7 separate regions of the Homo sapiens genome follow, and regions 2, 3, 4, 5, 6 and 7 are each linked to region 1. The links are contacts of gene promoters, found by promoter capture Hi-C in blood cells and fetal thymus (Javierre and others, 2016). All regions are on one chromosome and are shown on one strand. The core of a region is centred on a gene start or on the middle of the fragment in contact, and the rest is flanking DNA. Distances in the headings are between cores, read along the strand shown.

Region 1 (2,561 bases), core at 22-2,521:
TTTTAGAGTCACGACACAGAACCAGACCCAGATAGAGCACAAGAACAAAACTAGGAATAGGACAGATTTGGACATAGATATTGGGATGGGGGAATGGTGGGGGAATGGACTGTTAGGTGCAGCCATGGGATGAGGATTGATCAGGGAAGCCTTCCTGGACAAAGTATTTGAGGGAGAAGATTTGGATGGAAGAGTGATAGCTAACTTTATGTGTCTACTTGAGTGGTCTAAGGGACACCCAGATAGCTGGTAAAACATTATTTCTGGATATGTCTGTGGAGTGTTTCTGGAAGAGATTTGCATTTGAATTGGTAGACTAAGAAGATCACCCTCATTAATATGGGTGGGAACCATCCAATCCCTTGGGGGCCAGTAGAACAAAAGAGTGGAGGAAGGCAAATTCTCTTTCTTCATGAGCTGGGACATCTATTTTACCTGCCTTTGGACATCATTGGAGTTCCTGGTTCTTCGTCCTTCAGGCTCTGGGACTTAGCAGTGAGCCTCCTCCCCTGCTTTGGACTTTCCTGAATTATACCACCTGTTTTCCTGGTTCTCCAGTGTATAGACAGCAGAGCGGGAGACTGTGGGACTTCTTGGCCTCCACAATCCTGTGAGCCAATTCTTGGAATAAATCTCGTCATATAGATAGATATCCTGTTAGTTCTGTTCTCTGGAAAACTCTTGACTAATACTGAGGTTATAGGGTTGGGCAGATAGCAAGGCAGAGAAAGAAGTCAAAATGGTGACACTCTGGAGATGGGCTTGGACAGTAATGGGGGATGCCCCTTGCTAAAAAGTTGTTAGGAGCTACCAGAAATGTCTTCGTGGATGTTCTGTATAAGTAATGGCAGGCTGCAAAGGAGAAGTCTCTTATACCCACGGTGGCAGGGGGCCTAGCAATGGTCTTTAGCTATTGTTAATACCTTCAGGTGGGTGAGGGATTGGGGATGGTTGAAGCTTCCTGATTTGCAATCCCTTTGGGAAAATAGTGAATGAACTTTTGGAAGGGCGATGCCCTTTAGGGATAGAACCCAGGATTTCCTAGGTACTTACAGGCTGTGGCTTTTCACTTCTCAAGACTTCCTGATTTAACGCTGATGGAAAGATTAAACTACAATTCCCAGCGATCTTTAGGGCTAATTTAGTGCGCCTTCCGGGATTGGAGCATTTCCGGCGGAAGTGGCTGCGGGTACGCCAATCTCCTTCCCTAAACAATGTAGACTACGACTCCCACTGTCCTTAGCGCCGGGGGTTGGGTTTGGGGTGGGGGAAAGGAACCGGAAACGGGATGGGGAGCTGGACCAGGTGAGGAAGTAGGGGGCTGGGAATCCGGGACTGTGGGGGCAAGTTGACGGCTCCCAGGGTCGTCGGGGCTGAGCCGAGAGGGTGGTTAGAATTTCTATATTTTGGGGTCCCTCCCTCCGTATGGGGTAAGACTCAGTGCAGGGAGAGCCCAGCCTATGAAACCGCCTGGGAGGTCTGCAGGATCAAGGCTTTCCAGTCGGCCGGAGCCAGCGGGCGCCCCCGGAGGTTTTGTATGGTGCCTTAGTAGTCGGCCCCTTTGGAACCAGATGAAATGGTCTTTTTGAGTTTATGCTTTATTATTATTATTGTTTATTTATTTATTTTTCTGAGACGGAATTTTGCTCTGAATTCCAGGCTGGAGTGCAATGGCGCGATCTCAGCTCACTGCAGCCTCCGCCTCCCGGGTTCAAGCGATTCTTCTGCCTCAGCCTCCCGAGTAGGTGGGATTACAGGCGCGCGCCACCATGCCCAGCTAATTTTTGTATTTAGTAGAGACTGGGTTTCACCATGTTGGTCAGGCTGGTCTCGAAGTCCTGACCTCGTGATCCGCCCGCCTCGGCCTCCCAAAGTGCTCGGATTACGGGTGTGAGCCACCGCGCCCGGCCTATGCATTATTATTATTATTATTATTATTATTATTATTATTATTATTATTTATTATTATTATTATTATTATTATTATTTCGTTTAAGGATATTTATTATTGTCCCTGGACTCCCGGAGTGCCTCCAAAGGACAGGGGAGTGCATATGTGATTTCGATTCCTTCCTCACTTCCCGGATTTGATGTCAGAGAAGTCTGACATCAGTCTGAAGTCGGCCCTTGGTGGTCAGCCTTATCGCTTGGTCCAACTCCGCTGTCTTTGTGCTTAATGTAGTATGACACCGTATTTTATAAAATATCTACATTTCTTAAGCCTCTGGCTCTTGGGGCGACTTTGGGTAGAACTTACAAGTTCCTCCTTTGGGTTCTCTTAGTGTTTTGTTCCGGGTATTAAAGCTCACATCACACTGTATTACAGTTAGTTGTTTATTTGCCCTCACAGCAGATTATGAGCTTACAGAAAGCCTGGCCTACATTTTACTCTTTTTGGATTTCTTCCTCATCAAGAGACTGCTGCAGTGCCTGTCATGTAAGAGACTCATAAGTATTGAAAAAAAAAATGAGTTAACAGGTGGTAGGTTGGATGGAGTATGTGATTTTCCATAGAGAAGAGAGTTAAATGAGTTGCTCAAGAGAACCTTCTTAGAGATGAA
Region 2 (2,561 bases), core at 33-2,532, 230 kb after region 1:
TCTGAATCGTCTTTTCTACCCAGACCCACATCCCCACCAACTCCCCCACTTTCTTTACTCTTTTTTTTCCTTTCATTCTTTGCTCTTACCTCCTCAACCCTACCTCCTGCTGCACTATTCATGACCCTTCTAAGTCCCTATCCCCTCCTTTTTTCCCAAACCTCTCCCCAATTTTCTTCTTCCCTATTTCCTGGTCCCTTCCTCTCACATCCTTCAGGACTGGATCCCGGATCAGTTACAACAGATATGGGCGAATGGCAGAGTAAACGCATCCACTGGCATTTCTTTCGAAATGTAAGTAATGGGGTCTGTGGGAAGGTGGAGGGAGAGGCGCCTGGGAGAACTAGGGCCGGGCTTTCTGTCCCCACCTCCTCACCCCCAGGCCTGGGGAGTCCCCGTCAGGATCCCCCAACTCCGGAATCCCTGCCGCCTCCAGCCGCAGGCAGACGAAAAAGGAACACTCTCCATTTCTTTTGTGGGGATGTTTACATGTTTATAGGCTCCCCCCACCCGCACTTCATTTTATAAGAAGCTCTTCCTCGCCACACATTCTGTCACCCTGGGCGTCCCTAGCTCAGTCCTGTTCTGCCCGCCCTGGTAAGAGGTCGGGTTTGAATCCGCCGCTTGAGTGGCCGGGGTCCTTACCGCTGGCCGAGAGCCCGCCGCCGGGGTTCAACGGCGATACCAAGCTGCCGGGGTCGCCTGCGCCGGCGCCCTTGTTGCCCTCGTTGAGCAGGGACGAACTGGAGTCGGATTCCAGCGACTGGCAGGAGGGCGGGTCGTGCGGAGGTCCTGCGCCGCCGCCGCCGTCGCCACCGCCGCCGCCCGCCGCGTAGTCGTACTTGAAGCCGAGCGCAGGCGGCCCCGACGGCTCCAGCGGGAGCAGCGCTGCCCCGGGCCCGGCTCCCGGGTCGCGCCCGCGCTCCTCACGCTTCAGGCCCCCGCCGCCACCCTCGGCGCACGGCTCGCGGTAGTAACCCTTGCCGTCCTCCACGCGCGCCAGCTCGCACGTGCGGCCGAAGGGAGGGTTGAGAGACACTGGGCTGCCGAGGTAGGGCTGCGGGTAGCCATTGCACGGCTCCGCCGACGGCCAGGACAGGGAGCACACGTTGTCGCGGCGTGGGTAGGACAGCGAAGGCAGCCCGGGAAGCTGCGCCCCGGACGCGCGGAAGTTGGGGAAGTAGAAGGTGTCTCCCGTGTGGATGTTTACCAGCGGCCCCACAAACCCGGGATTCAGGAGATTATGCTCGCCCATTTCCGCGGGGCCCGACCGGCAGCTTCTACTTTATTGCTATCTGACATTAAACATAGTTAAATCTGCACCAGTCACCCATTGGCCGCCCCACTCACGTGGGCACGGCCGCCAGGGGGAGGGGTGGGGACAACCGATCCCCCCCCCCCACCATCCCATCCCGCACTCTAACTTCCCCCTTCCCCAATCCTGGGGGTGAGTGGGGTAACAAAGGGCGGGGGCAGGTTTATTTGCTGAACTGATTTTCTAAAACAATGTATATAACCTAACGCAGAGAGTAAAGCAATTGCCCAACACGGGGCAAAAGGGAAAAAACACACACCAAAAAATGCCCGCATATATACACCCCTATAACCTGCACCCCCCCCCATATATTATCTTATCGCCAACAGCTGGCCAAGCACAGCCTGTCCCTCTTTAATTAGCTTCTTTATTAACTAAAACCGTTGGAATTTACAATATCTCCTCAATAAATTACTATTAGATATTGTGTCATATAAAGTTTACTGACTGTTTAAGGAGACGGATGAGCCCTTTGGCTCGGGGTTTATTTACAGTAGAGGCGAAGTGGGGGTAAGGACAGGTTTCCCTGCCGTTATCTCTTCCCGCCCCAGCTGCTGCTGCACACTTCTTTATCAGCTCTTTATCCTCAGGAATTTGGAGAGACATTTGGAGTCCTCTTCCCCAATACTCAAGGATAATTGATAATGCCGGGTTTTCCTCTGGAGCCGGGAGCCACCCAGCCTCACACCTCCACTCACGGCTAGAGGAAGGATGCGGAAGGGAGGTAGAGAATGCAGCAAAAGGAGGTGCCTAGCTCCACATGGACCTGCCTGCCTGCTCCTGAAAATCTGGGGGCGAACTACTCTTCTGCTGTCATTTCCGGGGAACTGAGGAGCTTCTGGGGGCCTCCTGGAGTCTTTGCAGTGGGAAGCTTTGGACCCCTAACAGGGCTTGACTGGGCTGAGAGGGGCCTAATTCTCACTGCGGAGGAGACAACTGCACCCCAGAACCGGCCAAGCCTGCCCCTGGGACCATCAGATAGCAGTGCAGAGGCCCGCAGTAGGTTGCCTCCTGAGGGGGCTAGGATTGAGGGAAAAAACCCTTGAAGAATTATCTTATTGGGGGGTGAAATTATATTTATGGTGCAAACTCAGAAGCTCCCTCCAGAGAAGGCCGAGAAGCAATGCTGGCCATTGGTGAGATAATCAACATCTGCAAAACCACAATCCGATCTCAACTAGGTCCACAGAACACAGCCAAGCGGATTAAAAAGAAAGACAAAATAAAACTCCCCCAAACCAGATGT
Region 3 (2,561 bases), core at 38-2,537, 190 kb before region 1:
GGCTCTGAGAATGGCCTAGGTAGTTCACCTCCCAGAGCAAAAGCCACCCAACCCACTACCTACCCCCACAGATGTCAATAGTTAATAAAGAATTATAGTTAGAGCAAAATCTAATTCTAGGGCATCTGAGAGATTCAGCAGCCCCCCTCCAAATCTAAGTCTCAATATCCCCCTCTGGTCAGTAGGATGAATCACCCACTTGACTCTCTTCTTCCTGGGGCGATACCAAGCTTTAGGATCCCCTGGGGGAAAGCAAAACCAGAAGAAGAGGGTGGCCAGGGGCTTGAGGCTGGGAGTCCTGCTGGTTCAGCAGGCAGCCTGCAGAAAAGGTATGAGCTCTTACTGGGTCTGTAATGTGCCTAAGGAGTTTGGGGGAGGGAGGCTGGAAAAGGGGGAAGTGAAAACCACCCAGAAGGGAAGGACTGGTCTACACCCTCCCCCAGGCCCACAGGGCACTGTGCTCCATTGCTCTGGAGCCAGCAGGGGAAGTGTGTACACTATGTGCACTGAGGGTGACACTTCTGAGTGTGGGGGCCCTGGCTAGGGAGTGGGACTGGCAGGCTTGGGTGGGGTTCCCAAGCTTTAATCTTCCTACCCCACAGAATGTTTTCTCTGCCCTTCAGGCAGCCTGAGCCGGGCAGGGCCCCTGCCTCTGCTACGGCAGCCCCCGATCATGCAGCCCCCACTGGACCTCAAGCAGATCCTGCCCTTCCCACTCGAGCCAGCCCCTACCCTTGGCCTCTTCAGCAACTACAGCACCGTAAGTAGCAGCCTGCCTGCCTTCTCCATCCTCTTGTGACCCGACCTTTCTCTCTCAGACCCACCTCTGCCCTCTTCTTCTGTTTCTAATTCCTTATCTCCTCTTATGACCCCATCTTCCTTAATTCTAGTTAATTTTGAGTATTGTGGGCCATCTGGTACAGTGTTAACAACAATAATAATAGCTAATATTTGCTGAGGTCTTGCTACGGGCCAGACACTGTGCTAAGTGTTTTATATGAATTATCTCATTTAGTCCTACAGTGAATCGCCCTACCATCTAGAGAAGTAATGAGACTTAAATTGGTGGTAGTAACAGTAGGGAGGTAGGAGGGGTGTAGGTGCTGAATCCAGAAAGAGGGAATGAGCAGGAAAATAAGCATGCCTGTTTGTAAGTTTCACCTCTCTGCAGTCCACGGCTGGGTGGGTAGCATCAGTGGGATAGGGCTTGGAGGACTGGCAAGGTGGTCTAGATTTAATACAATATGAAATAAGGAGGTGCTGTCTATTCGTGTGTTTGTTTGTTTGTTTTTATGAGACGGAGTCTCACTCTGTTGCCCAGTCTGGTGTGCAGTGGCACGATCTTGGGTCACTGCAGCCTCCACCTCCCCAGTTCACCGATTCTCCTGCCTCGGCCTCCCAAGTAGCTGGGATTACAGGCGTGTGCCACCACACCGGGCTAATTTTTGTATTTTTAGTAGAGATGGGGTTTCACCATGTTGGCCAGGCTGGTCTCAAACTCCTGACCTCAGGTGATCCGCCTGCCTCAGCCTCCCAAAGTGCTGGGATTACAGGCATGAGCCACCACACCCAGCCGCCACTGTCTATTCTTGAGCAGGAGAGTGACTTGGTAAGAGCAGTGTTTGAGGAAGGTGAGTGGGGCAACTGGATGAAAGGGAACAGAGGCAGGAGGAAGGTGACAGTTAGGAGGCTGTCCTAGCAATGCAGGCCCGAGGGAAGCCTCAAAAGCCAGACGGGGCTGGTGGCAGTGGCAGTATGAGTGGAGAGAAAGGGAGAATGGGGGAGGTAATTTCAAGGAAATATTGACAGGCCATGGTGACCAACTGGTGTTTGGGGGTGGGGGAGAAGAGAAGGCATGAGTCAAGGATGACTCCAGCATTCAGGCCTTTGTGATTGGATGGAAGTCACCACTGACAGAGGCAGAGGGTTGGAAGAGGAAGCTGGTCTCCAGTGAGGATGATGCTTTAGCATGTGGTGCTAAAGCTAAAGCTTTATTTGTTTTGTTTTGTTTTGTTTTGTTTTTGAGATGTAGTCTTGCTCAATCTCTCAGGCTGGAGTGCAGTGGCATGATGATCTTGACTCATTGCAACCTCCGCCTCCTGGGTTCAAGCCATTCTCCTGCCTCACCCTCCTCAGTAGCTGGGATTACAGGCACGTACCACCATGCCCAGCTAATTTTTGTATTTTTAGTAGAGATGGGGTTTCACCATCTTGGCCAGGCTGGTCTGGAACCCTGACCTTGTGATCCACCTGCCTCAGCCTCCCAAGTGCTGGGATTACAGGCTTGAGCCACCGTGCCTGGCCTATTTGTTTTGTTTTAAAAAATAATAATAAATATTTTTTTTAAAAAAAAAAGGATATGGTGATTTGGCATACCAGTAGGACATTGAGCCCAAAATGTTCTACAGATAGTTAGAATCTGAAGCCTGGAAGGTGGGCTAGAGCTAAAAGTTTGGGGAAAGTCAGCCTTATTCAACTTAAATAACCCACATCAAACCATATTTAGCCATAAACATGTATTGAGCATTGACTACACACCAGGCACTGTAGCAGATGTTTCT
Region 4 (2,561 bases), core at 31-2,530, 170 kb after region 1:
TGCAGCAGGAGAGGTGAGAATTGGGGTCAACTTCTAGGACCCTCAAAACGACCCACATCCCCGGGGTCCCTTTCTTAGAGAGAATGACATTTTCCCCCAAGACCATCCCTAGTTTCCCTTCCCAGTTCAAATGGTGGCTTATTTGAAATCTTTTTACAATTAAAAATAAAATTAAAGCCCAAGATCTTGGTCTCTACTTCCTTTTTGCGGGGAGGGGTGCAAGGCAGTAAGCCTTTTGGATCGTGTCAGATTGCCCATACCCACCTGCCTTTCTCAGAAAAATTTCCTGATTCAATGTCTGGGCAGCTGGGATGTACTACCGAGGCCTGAAAAAATAACCTTTTACTGCCCTGAATTCCACCTTCTGTGCTAAAATTTCGAGCAGCCTGTTTTTCCAGACCCCTAATTTTGAAGGTGAGTCCAGAATAAATTCCCCCATAGAGACTATTTGCCGGGGGAGGGGTTGCAGGCAGGTCACTCTCCCCACGGGCTCGAGATTTGAAGGCCGGCATCTCTCCACTTGGTCCCGCATCAAGCTGGCATGGGAATCTCAATGGTTGGGTGCCTCAACCCTGACCAAGAGGGGATACCTCATGCCTTCCCCAGACTTCCTCCATAGTAAGAAAAGCAGTTCCCTAGGCCGGATGCAGGGACCTCGTTTCTTTTCACAAACCCACCCATAAATTTTATAACAGGTAGTTAAAAATTACGACAAGGAAGCGCTGGCCCAGCTTTTCACAATGGGCAGCGGGGAGAATGGGACGGCGCTGCGGGCAGCTCACCGGAAATTTTACTTCTAGACTGTGGCACAACCTGTCCTGAATTCTCCCTAATTGGGCGGGGTAACTTTCCCAGCCAGCAGGCAGTCATTAGGGCATCTTATCTGGGGAAGATAAGACTGGGGAGACCAAACCACTCGCCTATCCAAGGGTCCCTCAAGGAGCCCTTCAGGACGCTCACTACCTCTCTCACCCACCCCCAGATCTCTTGCAGGTCCGCACCTTCCTTGGCTGATGCAATGAGGGAGTGGGGAGGAAAAAAAATTTAATCCAGAGAAACGAATTTGCCCCCCAACTTAATAGCTGCATTATTCCAGCTCTACGGTTGAGATTAGAATAATAAATTCAAGGAGCAATGAGCGAGATGCTTCAACTCAGCATTTTGAAAGATACTATTTTTCACAAATCACAAATGGCTTTCGGAAGCCACTTTGATTGGCTAATAAAAAAGTAAAGAATGGGAGAGAAAGTCCTATCTGCAGCAGCCGAATGGTCCCCATTCCGGTAATGGGACGGCGGGAGCATTTGGGAGGACGCGATTCTAAAGAGAGCGCATCCCGCTCACAATTACGTTCCCCCATAAAACGGGTTTTTACCTCCATTTCTTTCCAAACGAGAAAACAGAGGCGGTGGGCAGGAGGGGTGGGGGAGCGGGTACTGCATGAGGGGGTGGCTGGGGCTCCCTCGGCTTAGCCCTCTCCATGCCTGGCATCTCGAGTAAAGCCGGGCGCCAGACGCACCCCGCCCTCCGACGCGCCGGGCTTGGGGCCACGGACATTGCTGAACAGGACAAGGGATAAATGGCACATTTGGTGTGGGGAAAAGGCGGCGAGGCCCTTCGGAGCCATTTAATGCTGGGTTCATTCCGCTAGGCTACTGGGCCAGATATTTTTATTAATAGCAATCATAATTCCACGTTTAAAAACGAAACGGGACCTCAGCCATCCCTCGGAGTATGGAGGACACGCCTGTGGGAAGGCCTGAGGTCTGAGCGAAATGGCCTCTTTTCTGGCTTCCCTGGTGGGTAGCCGGTGTCTCCCACTGAGAACAGGTTACCTGGCTGGTGCCGCTGCTCACAGCAGGGACCCCAGGTTAGAGAAGATTTCCCGGAGCTCCTGCTCAAAGCTGCCCCAGCTGCCTGCAGCCTGTGCTTCCAATTCACAGCCTTTCTCGGACTGCAGGAGTCCCCCTGTGAAGGAAGCCCGACTCAATTCTCTACTCAGGCCCGATTTTCAGGCCCGGTTTGCGTGGGGACCAGTGACTGGGACCTGGGTGAAATTCCACAAAACAAGAGTTGGCCTGGGCCTAGGTCTGGGAAAATCATTGACCAGGAGCTAGACAGATGAGGGGTGGGGAGGACAGAGAGAGAGAGAGAGAGAGAGAGAGAGAGAGAGAGAGAGAGAGAGAGAGAAAGAAGAGAAGAGAAGAGAAGAGAAGAGAAGAGAAGAGAAGAGAAGAGAAGAGAAGAGAAAAAGAAAGAAAGAAAATCTGGCCTCAAAAATATTTCAGCCTTCGGGGGTCTGGTTTTTAAGACCAGAAGATCCCTCCCCTCCCTTTTCCCCTCTCCTGACTGAGTCAGAAGACTTGTATCTCTGGAATTTGGGATTATTTGACCAGAATCTTATTGGCATAAACAGAATTTTTAAGTCCAGGACTCTCCAGAGAGAAGTGAGAGACCCTTCTACCCCCTGGGTCCCTGAGCCTTCAATTCTTCATTTTGGGGAATGAAGATACCAATAAAGACGCCCTCTTACCCCGCTGTGACTGGGGTGGCAGGATGTC
Region 5 (2,561 bases), core at 37-2,536, 170 kb before region 1:
GTACATATATTATTTCATGTAATCCTCACAAAATTACCATGAAGTATCTATTATAATTTCTTTCTTACAAATGTGAAAACTGAAGCACAAATAGGTTAAGTAATTTGTCCAAGGCCGAATGCCTAGTACGTTGTAAGACCGTGATTTGAGGGCAGAGTCTCAAATCCGCCTTTCTAAAACTAGGATCAAGTGTCCAGATGATCCCTAACTGTCCTTCCTATTCAGACCTTCTAAGATTCTGAAAGTTGACAACTCTGAAGAGTTGTAAAAGGATTCACTTTACATGTCCTTAGAAGGCAAATCACAACGGTGTCAAGTAGAAAGGTGAAGCAATAGGGATTGAGGTTAGACCTCAGAAAGGACTTCCCAATTATCAGTCGCTGGGGGGAAAAAAAAAAAACTCAGGAGACACAGAAGGAAATCCTGGGGTCTAAGACCATAGAGGACAGATCTTAGCAAAAAAGCAGCCACCCGCCACGGCCCACACATCCACCCCAGCCCCTAATTTCAATAAGGGCTGAATGAGGGGAATGAAACTGAAGAAAAGCCAGGCTTTCTTGAGGCCTTCTCTCTCTTGCGGTTGTGCTTGGCGAGTGAGGCCATGCACTGGGTCCCTCGTGGTGCGTTGCTCATGCGTGTCTCGGGATGTGTGTGTGTTTGGAGGCCCTTTATGCTCACGAGTGTGAGTCACTGTCTGTCTCTCTTTGTCTCTTTATCTCTGTCAGTCTCTCGCCCGAGTCCGAGCTCTATCCCTGACTTTCTGACGCTATCTCTCACTGCCTCTCTTTGTCTCTTTCCATCTGTCCGTCTCTCCTGTAGGCTGTCTTCATCTCCTGTACCTCTGTTATCGCCTTTTTTTTTCTCCTAAGCTCGTCTCTCCAATCCCCGCTGCCGCGCTCCCCCCGCCCCCTCCCCAGTCGCCCGCCCGGGCTGTTCTTGCTCGTTCGCACGCTCTCTCTCTTTCGCTGTCTCTTACAGGCAGATTTATGGTCAGCCCAGGGCCTTTCATTGGCCAAGCGCTGACAGAACTTGATTTAACGCCGCCTCTCATTGGCTGAGCTTGACAGGCCGATTTACGAGTCACTCTACCATTGGCCAAACCACCTTGGCCCTGATTTATGGCTCAGCAGCCGCGGGGAGGGGGGTGCAGCTGCTAGGGAGTGAGGAGTGAGGATGCCCCTCCCCTCCCCTTCCCGCCGCGTCCCTCCTCCTCTCCCCCGCTTTTTTCCCCTCTTTCCCTCCCCTCAAGGAATGGCGCTCCCTCTACCTGTTCCTCAGGCCCCCTCCTCCCTTCTCTTTCGTCCACTGGGAGGGGAAACTGGGGTGTGGTGGTAACGGGAACTGAAGGGATGATGGGGTCTGAGGGTACACATGGGCCGAGGAGTCGAGTTTGAGGGGTGTGGATGGGGGCCGACAGGGAGAGCAGAGGAGACTGAACAGGGAGAGAGGATTCCGAGCTGAGGAACGAAGGGGAAACTGAGAGGGCAAAAGGATGACAGAAAGAAAGGAAGGTTGAGGAGAGAAGGAAGGCAGGGGAAGAGAGAGAGGGTTAAGGAGCTAAATGGGGGGTTGGGTAATTTGTCCAAGATCCGAGAAGAAAGAAGGAGAGATGAAGAGAAAGGACACATTTGAGGGGCCACACGGGCTGAAGCAGGGAAATCGGGCATCGAGAGAGGGACTTTTCAAATCTCACTATCCAGACTGAATAAGAGACGGAAATTTCCTTTTCACACAATGGCTCTGAAAAGGAAAAGCATTAGAGAAGCAAAGACAGAGAAAGGCGCAATAGGGAGGTGAGAGAGAGGGAGAAGCAGGAAAGGACAACTGGAAGGTAATAGCAAAGAAAAGAGAGAGGGAGAGCGACAGAGAACTAATGGGAAAGACCAGGAGGAAGGTAGGTTTTTGGTTTTTTGTTTGTTTTTAGGGGAGGGAGGAAAGGTGCCGTGAGAGAAGACTACTCCCCAACGGAAATATTGACAGAAAGGCTCCTCCTCCTCCCCTATGAAGACCCATTGGCGTCTGCAAGGGGACAGACGAGTCAGGCGCCTCCCCCAGGAGATATTCTGCTTCCTCAAGGCTGCAGTAAGCTCCCCATCCCATGCACCTCACTCCTCCCCTTGCCCACCTCCCCAGTTAAATTTATGAGTCCAGGGTGGCCTTCAGGAATTAGGAATATTTATGCTTCTTTGAGAGTGAGATTTAGAAGGTGATAAATAAGGGTCCACTGGGGGGTGCAGCTGGGGGCTCCTATTTTTAACATGGCCATTTTCCCAAGGCCCCACCCACACATTCCCTCTCCTCCTGAGCCAGAGAAGGAAGCACAGACGGAGGTGAGGAATGGGTTTCAGGTATCAGGAAGAGGGGTTGACTATCCTGTAGAGCCCCTCAGAGGACTGCAGAGCTTTGCAGCAGAAAGGATTGAAGGCAGATAGGGGAGGAACTTTCCAAGCATCCTGGCATTCGTATAGCCCCTAGTGTGCAGTTACAACATTTTTGCAGAAGGTGGGGAGAAGCCCATTTCCCCCCTGTCCCCTTAAGCTCAGTTGCTGAGGAATAGGGGA
Region 6 (2,561 bases), core at 46-2,545, 150 kb after region 1:
TAAAAGAAGTATTTACTAGACAAGATTTATCTCTAATGTCTGAGCAAGGGAGCCCTGAGGAGTTTGGAGTTTGAGCTTGGAACAGAAGGAGAGGGGGATTAGATCAGATAAGATTCTGGCCTCCTTGGACCCTCCATGTCTCTTCAACTCCTGACAACTCAATCTGGGCCAACACAACACTGAAGATCACAGAAAGCCTGGCTGCCACCATCCCTGGAGTCAGCTCTAGCGTTTGAGTTTTCCAGAAAGGCAGAAGGAAGGAAACTCAACAGCTGCGCAGGGCTTGAGGGGTGGGGGTGGGGTGGGGAGGACAAATGGTTTCCAAGCTGGGCTGACGGGAAGAATGGAGTGGGAGGGAGGAGTGGGAAGTTGGTTCCATGCTGGTTACTGTGTCCAGCCCAGGCTTCTGACCTCTACCATACCATCCTTGGGCACATATATGTGTTTCTGTGTGTTCAGGTATTCTGGTGTTCAGGGCCAGGGGCTGGGGTAAATGAGAATCTTTAGAGGGCAGAACCAAGCCTGAACTGCCTCTCTGAGACCTGTGGTGCAGAACTGAAAGGATCCTAGGTGACCAGGCTACACATTTCACCCAGCCCATATGGGGTTGCAGATCACTGTAGAACTTTCTCTGTACATGTGTACAGATGCAGAGAAGCAGCCTTCTCCCTGCACTTGCTCCCCAGCATGCCTGGAGCAGTGGACCGGCTCAGGGCCCAGCCCAAGTGTTCAACCTCTTCTCATAGCTGCTAAAATGTGGTCCTTAGAGGCTGAACAAGGTCCTGCATAACCGAGTCCAATTTTCCCAAGTCCCACATTGCACACCCATACCGCTTCCTCTGAGGTATCTCTGTTCCCCTTTTGCCTCTCAGTGAACCTTAGGATTGGGAGAGGGAGATGATTACAAGGGTTGTGTAGGCCTCAAAAATAAAGAGATTTGTATCACCGAAGTTCCTCAACCCAGACCTTGTCTGGCAATTCCTTGGGCTCCTGGAGCCCCATCAAAGCTGCTAGCAGAGATAGTATCAGTACAGACACACCAATGTGGGTCACAAGGAGCCAATAAAAGTTGGGAGGGGTAGGAAAGGATGTGACTTTCTTGGCTCTCAAACAGCATCGTCTTCTCCTTAAATTGAATCATTCACCCCAAAACCCTAGTTTGGCACCCTGATTTCAGATTTTCTTTCTCCTTCACCTCAAAGGGCTTCAGGGGCCCTAGTCCCACTAAAGAAGAGGCTCAGGGTGGTGGTGCTTGTCTTCTCAGCAAAAAGGACCTAATTAAATCCTAGAACAATGATGTTTCAGCATTCCCCCTCTCAAAAACTCAGTCCAAAGCAGTTACAGAGAACGACAGTCAAAAAGAGAAAGTTTACCTTTTTGAGGCACTCACAAGGAGGGGTCGAGGCACTCACAAAATCTCTTTTCCCAGTGCCTGTGTGGATAGAACCAATCTCCCCCTGTCTTTGTTTCCTAACTCTTCATGAGATCTGGTACCCCAGTGTGAGAAGTCCACATTGAGGGTGAGAGTTGGTCTCCAACAATCTGCCACACCATTCACTGGGGAAGAATAAGTGTGTCCTTTAATTCTAACTCATAAAAGAGGCAAATGGGGCTGGCCACGGTGGCTCATGCCTGTAATCCCAGCACCTTGGGAGGCAAAGGCAGGCGGATCATCTGATGTCAGGAGTTTGAGACCAGCCTGACCAACACGGAGAAACCCTGTCTCTATTAAAAATACAAAATTAGCCAGGCGTGGTGGTGCATGCCTCTAATCCCAGCTACTCAGGAGGCTGAGGCAGGAGAATCGCTTGAACCCAGGAGGCAGAGTTTGCGGTGAGCTGAGATCCTGCCATTGCACTATAGCCTGGGCAACAAGAGTGAAACTCCATCTCAAAAAAAAAAAAAAAAAAGAAAAGAAAAGAAAAGGCTGGGCGCGGTGGTTCACACCTGTAATCTCAGCACTTTGGGAGGATGAGGCGTGTGGATTACCTGAGGTCAGCCTGGGCAACATGATTAAATCTCATCTCTGCCAAAAATACAAAAATTAACTGGGTGTGGTGGTGGGCACCTGTAATCCCAGCCACTTGGGAGGTTGAGGCAGGAGAATCACTTGAACCCAGGAGACAGAGTTTGCGATGAGCCGAGATTGTGCCATTGCACTCCAGCCGGGGCGACAAGAGTGAAACTTAGTCTCAAAATAAGCAGATGGAGCAGTGTGGTTGAAGGTAACTTGAAAAGTGAGGGCTCAATGATTTCTGAGAAGAGCTGCTCTTTTTCTGGCTTCTCATCCTTATCCTTCCCACCTGGCCTGTGGCATTGTCCCCAAACCAGCTCCATCCAGAAGACAAACAATGAGGGGATTGTTGACAAAGCCCAGCTCAGTCCGGACTATCCTTCCCATTCTTGTACTCTTAATGCCCCCAGGGGGGTGCTTAGAGGTCCAGGTGCCACAGTCCATCAGAACTCCTGCCCCTTAGCTCAAAGAGGGCAAGAGATCAGGAAGAGAAGGGGAGGAGAACCCAACCAGAAAATTCACTCTGAAACAAAGCTCTAGAGAAGTG
Region 7 (2,561 bases), core at 46-2,545, 130 kb after region 1:
CCAGCGGAGTTCACCGCGCAGTGAACCCGCTCAGCTGGCCACGCATCCCGCGCTCCCCGCCCCGCGCCCCTATTGTCCGCCCAAGCCCGGGGTCGTGACCCAGCTGAAGGCGACACCGCGCCCAGGGCGGACGTGGCGTGGAACCCAGAGGAGGAGCCTGGCTGCCGCTGGCCCTTGAAACTTCGTCTTTGCCCCGGCTGGCCCCATTTCGCGATCCTCAAGACCCTGGCCTCTGTGAGAAGGGGAGCTGGGACACCCCCACCCCATGAAGACAGTCACATTTTGCCCCATTCTCTCGCGGCCAGGCTTCCCGGGAAGCCAGAGCTCCAGAGTGGAACCTAGGGTTTGGCTATCTGGCAGTGCCTCCTGCACACTCGGTTCCAGGGTTTTTTTCTGCCTGGAAATTAAAATACTGTATACTTTCCTCTCCCGATCTTTGATGCTGGGAAAAGAGGGAGTCAGAAAGGAGGAGTGAGTAGAAGCGACACTATTTTGGCTTCACTCATACCCCATCGAGGCAGGCAGAGCTGACCCTAGAGGATGCTGCCTATTCAGGAATCTGAAAATTGTTGATGGGGCCCGGAAATTTAAAATAGTCCCTTCCTCTTTATTAGGCTCTGTAACCCTAATCGCCCTCAAACATAGTCTGATATTCCCTACCCATCCTTGTCTTCCCTTCCTCCTGATTTATCCTCCAGGCCTGGCAGAAAGTGGAAGCAGGAAGATGAGGCTGCAGAGGCCCTTATCCCGGCAGGCCTGGATGTGGGCTCTGCTGGATTGGCCCTGCGTTCAAAGAGCTACGGAACTGACACCAGAGAGAAGAGAAGAAAAACCCGGAGGAGTGGAGGGAGAGCCAGGGGCTCCTGGCATTGGAGGGCTGATGAGCAAAGCTCCAGATCAGCTTTAGCTTCTTTCTGCTCCCCAAGCTCCAAAGGGGTCTGAGCTCCTTGAGCTGCGCAGGTTTTAAAATGTTCGAGGGCTCCTCACAGATCTGTAGCTCAGAGTTCACTGCCCCCATTTTTAATTATCAAGAGGCAGCTAAAACTCCAACACCCGGAGCAGCCACACGCTGCAGGAGAAAAATCAAAATGGGGCTGGCAATGCAGGGTGCAGAAAAAGCAGGCTGAGAAGGGTGGTCAGCTCTATCAAAAACATTGGTAAGAGGCAAAGACTTTTTTTTTTTTTAACAAATCCCCCAAATGTTTATTTTGGGCTCCTGCCCATCCAGATAAATCAAGCTAACAGATTAGGAAGTTCATAAAATTGTATTCTTAGGTAATGACATCCAGAGAGGTAATAAATATTCCCTCTGCTCTGGTGGCCGCTGGAGTTCTGGTGTTCAGGGATCTTCCATCTCTCATTCCAAGCCTGAGAGGGGTCTCTTGGAAGGGGAACATTTAAATTAAAATTAGCTCTCCATAGGTGCAGTGCCAGATAGAAGCTGTGGAAAACCCGGAGCGGTGGTTTTGTGAGTGCAATAGCTTGCTCCCCCAGGACTGGGCAAAAGGCAGAGAAAAAGATGGTACAGTTGCTCCAGCGCACTGCTCCTCCCCGTCATAGCACCCTTGATCTTAAGGGCCCCTTTCAGAGTCAGTCTCCCCTAATCCTAGAAAAGCAGAGAAGGACACCCTGGCTCCAAGCTCCCAGCAAACCTTTTAATTGTTTTCACTTCCCTACAACTCCCCCCAACACACACACACACACACACACACACACACACACACACACCCCTAGCTGTGGGAAGCTGTCTCTGGATTTCAATCTGCCAAGTCCAAGCAGAAAGAAAACTGAAGCACAGATTGCAGAGAAAACTTTGTAGGAAACTTCACACAAACAGCAGCAAGAGACCCTCGGAAAGGCAAAGTGCCCCAGTCCTTTTCCCTCAGTCTCACTTTCTCAGACTCTCTCTTTTTTGAGCCAAATTTCTTTACTCCCCAGGTACACAGACTCAGCACAGAACCGTCTTTTTCTCCAAGCAGAACCCCTCCGCTTACAATTGGATTTCCCGCCTTCCCTGCCTAAGACCGGGAGTTGAGACAAAAATTGAGTGGCAAATAAGAGTTTAAACTTTTGTGCTCCTCACCCCCAGAGCAGACCGAGTGCTAACTACTTACGTGTCAATGGGATCTTTGGCCTGTGGGGATCTCCTGGCGCTTGGAGAGAAGGAACCCTGGAAGATTGGTGTCGACATTTCACCCGTCTTCTTTTTACTTAGCCATTGAAGAGAGAGGGATACAATGCACTTACAGGCATTCATGCGCCTTGCCTCTCCCATTACTCTGGGCAAGAAATCCCCAGTCCTACAAAAGCAGTGGCATCCTATCTGGAGACCAGGGCTGAGCAAGGGCTGGCTTGGGAGGGTCAGAGATGGGGGTGGGGGAGAGGTCAGAGGCGCTGCCGAATATAAAGGCAATGGGAGAGAAAATGCTGTGTCCTCCCCGTGAACCTGGGCTGTGTCCTCCCCCCAGCCTTTCCCCACTGCTCAACCCAACTTAAATAAAAGCCCAGCCCTCAGCTTCCCAGCGAGGCTGTAGCAGCATCAGGCAGAGCAGCAGGGACCA

Evidence for each region. Contacts are between HindIII fragments. The CHiCAGO score rates a contact against its expected background, and 5 or more counts as called.
Region 2: the fragment with the promoter of HOXC12 here is called in contact with the fragment with the promoter of SMUG1 in region 1 in 3 of 17 cell types (naive B cells, total B cells and naive CD8 T cells); the score reaches 8.1 in naive B cells.
Region 3: a contact is called between a fragment that was not itself captured here and the fragment with the promoter of SMUG1 in region 1, in 1 of 17 cell types (erythroblasts). The highest score is 5.4, in erythroblasts.
Region 4: a contact is called between a fragment that was not itself captured here and the fragment with the promoter of SMUG1 in region 1, in 17 of 17 cell types (total CD8 T cells, naive CD4 T cells, naive CD8 T cells and 14 more). The highest score is 36.7, in total CD8 T cells.
Region 5: a fragment that was not itself captured here is called in contact with the fragment with the promoter of SMUG1 in region 1 in 1 of 17 cell types (fetal thymus); the score reaches 5.4 in fetal thymus.
Region 6: a fragment that was not itself captured here is called in contact with the fragment with the promoter of SMUG1 in region 1 in 15 of 17 cell types (total B cells, total CD8 T cells, naive B cells and 12 more); the score reaches 15.9 in total B cells.
Region 7: a contact is called between a fragment that was not itself captured here and the fragment with the promoter of SMUG1 in region 1, in 9 of 17 cell types (total B cells, total CD8 T cells, naive B cells and 6 more). The highest score is 11.4, in total B cells.

The regions. Positions count from the first base shown.
Region 1 is chr12:54,187,695-54,190,255 of GRCh38, reverse strand. SMUG1 (single-strand-selective monofunctional uracil-DNA glycosylase 1) reads left to right here and starts at 1,271. Exons shown (of 4, transcript NM_001243787.2): 1 at 1,271-1,305; 2 at 2,354-2,437. LOC105369777 (a long non-coding RNA gene) reads right to left here and starts at 1,159. Exons shown (of 3, transcript XR_944984.2): 1 at 1,054-1,159. The HindIII fragment of the contact is 2,636 bases long and covers 960-2,561 here.
Region 2 is chr12:53,953,624-53,956,184 of GRCh38, reverse strand. It overlaps HOXC12 (homeobox C12), which reads right to left and starts at 1,282. Exons shown (of 2, transcript NM_173860.3): 1 at 646-1,282. The coding sequence starts at 1,255. LOC105369775 (a long non-coding RNA gene) reads left to right here. Exons shown (of 3, transcript XR_944977.2): 2 at 218-294; 3 at 1,906-2,561. The HindIII fragment of the contact is 3,202 bases long and covers 1-2,188 here.
Region 3 is chr12:54,382,627-54,385,187 of GRCh38, reverse strand. ZNF385A (zinc finger protein 385A) reads left to right here and starts at 455. Exons shown (of 7, transcript NM_015481.3): 1 at 455-760. The coding sequence starts at 674. All of the region lies in intron 1 of GPR84-AS1 (GPR84, ZNF385A, ITGA5 and GTSF1 antisense RNA 1), which reads right to left. The HindIII fragment of the contact is 1,409 bases long and covers 583-1,991 here.
Region 4 is chr12:54,013,634-54,016,194 of GRCh38, reverse strand. LOC124902939 (a long non-coding RNA gene) reads left to right here. Exons shown (of 2, transcript XR_007063323.1): 2 at 1-182. Among named protein-coding and RNA genes, the nearest start is that of HOXC8, 5.9 kb to the right of the region's middle. The HindIII fragment of the contact is 3,080 bases long and covers 1-2,561 here.
Region 5 is chr12:54,357,770-54,360,330 of GRCh38, reverse strand. All of the region lies in intron 1 of GPR84-AS1 (GPR84, ZNF385A, ITGA5 and GTSF1 antisense RNA 1), which reads right to left. It also overlaps a transcript of GPR84 not described here. Among named protein-coding and RNA genes, the nearest start is that of GPR84-AS1, 5.4 kb to the right of the region's middle. RefSeq lists silencers at 705-884, 1,035-1,104, 1,115-1,354 and enhancers at 912-1,736, 1,737-2,561. The HindIII fragment of the contact is 3,720 bases long and covers 1-2,561 here.
Region 6 is chr12:54,041,327-54,043,887 of GRCh38, reverse strand. It overlaps a transcript of HOXC4 not described here. Among named protein-coding and RNA genes, the nearest start is that of MIR615, 8.7 kb to the right of the region's middle. The HindIII fragment of the contact is 4,734 bases long and covers 1-2,561 here.
Region 7 is chr12:54,058,118-54,060,678 of GRCh38, reverse strand. It overlaps FLJ12825 (a long non-coding RNA gene), which reads right to left and starts at 2,425. Exons shown (of 2, transcript NR_026655.1): 1 at 2,115-2,425. RefSeq lists an enhancer at 2,527-2,561. The HindIII fragment of the contact is 9,317 bases long and covers 1-2,561 here.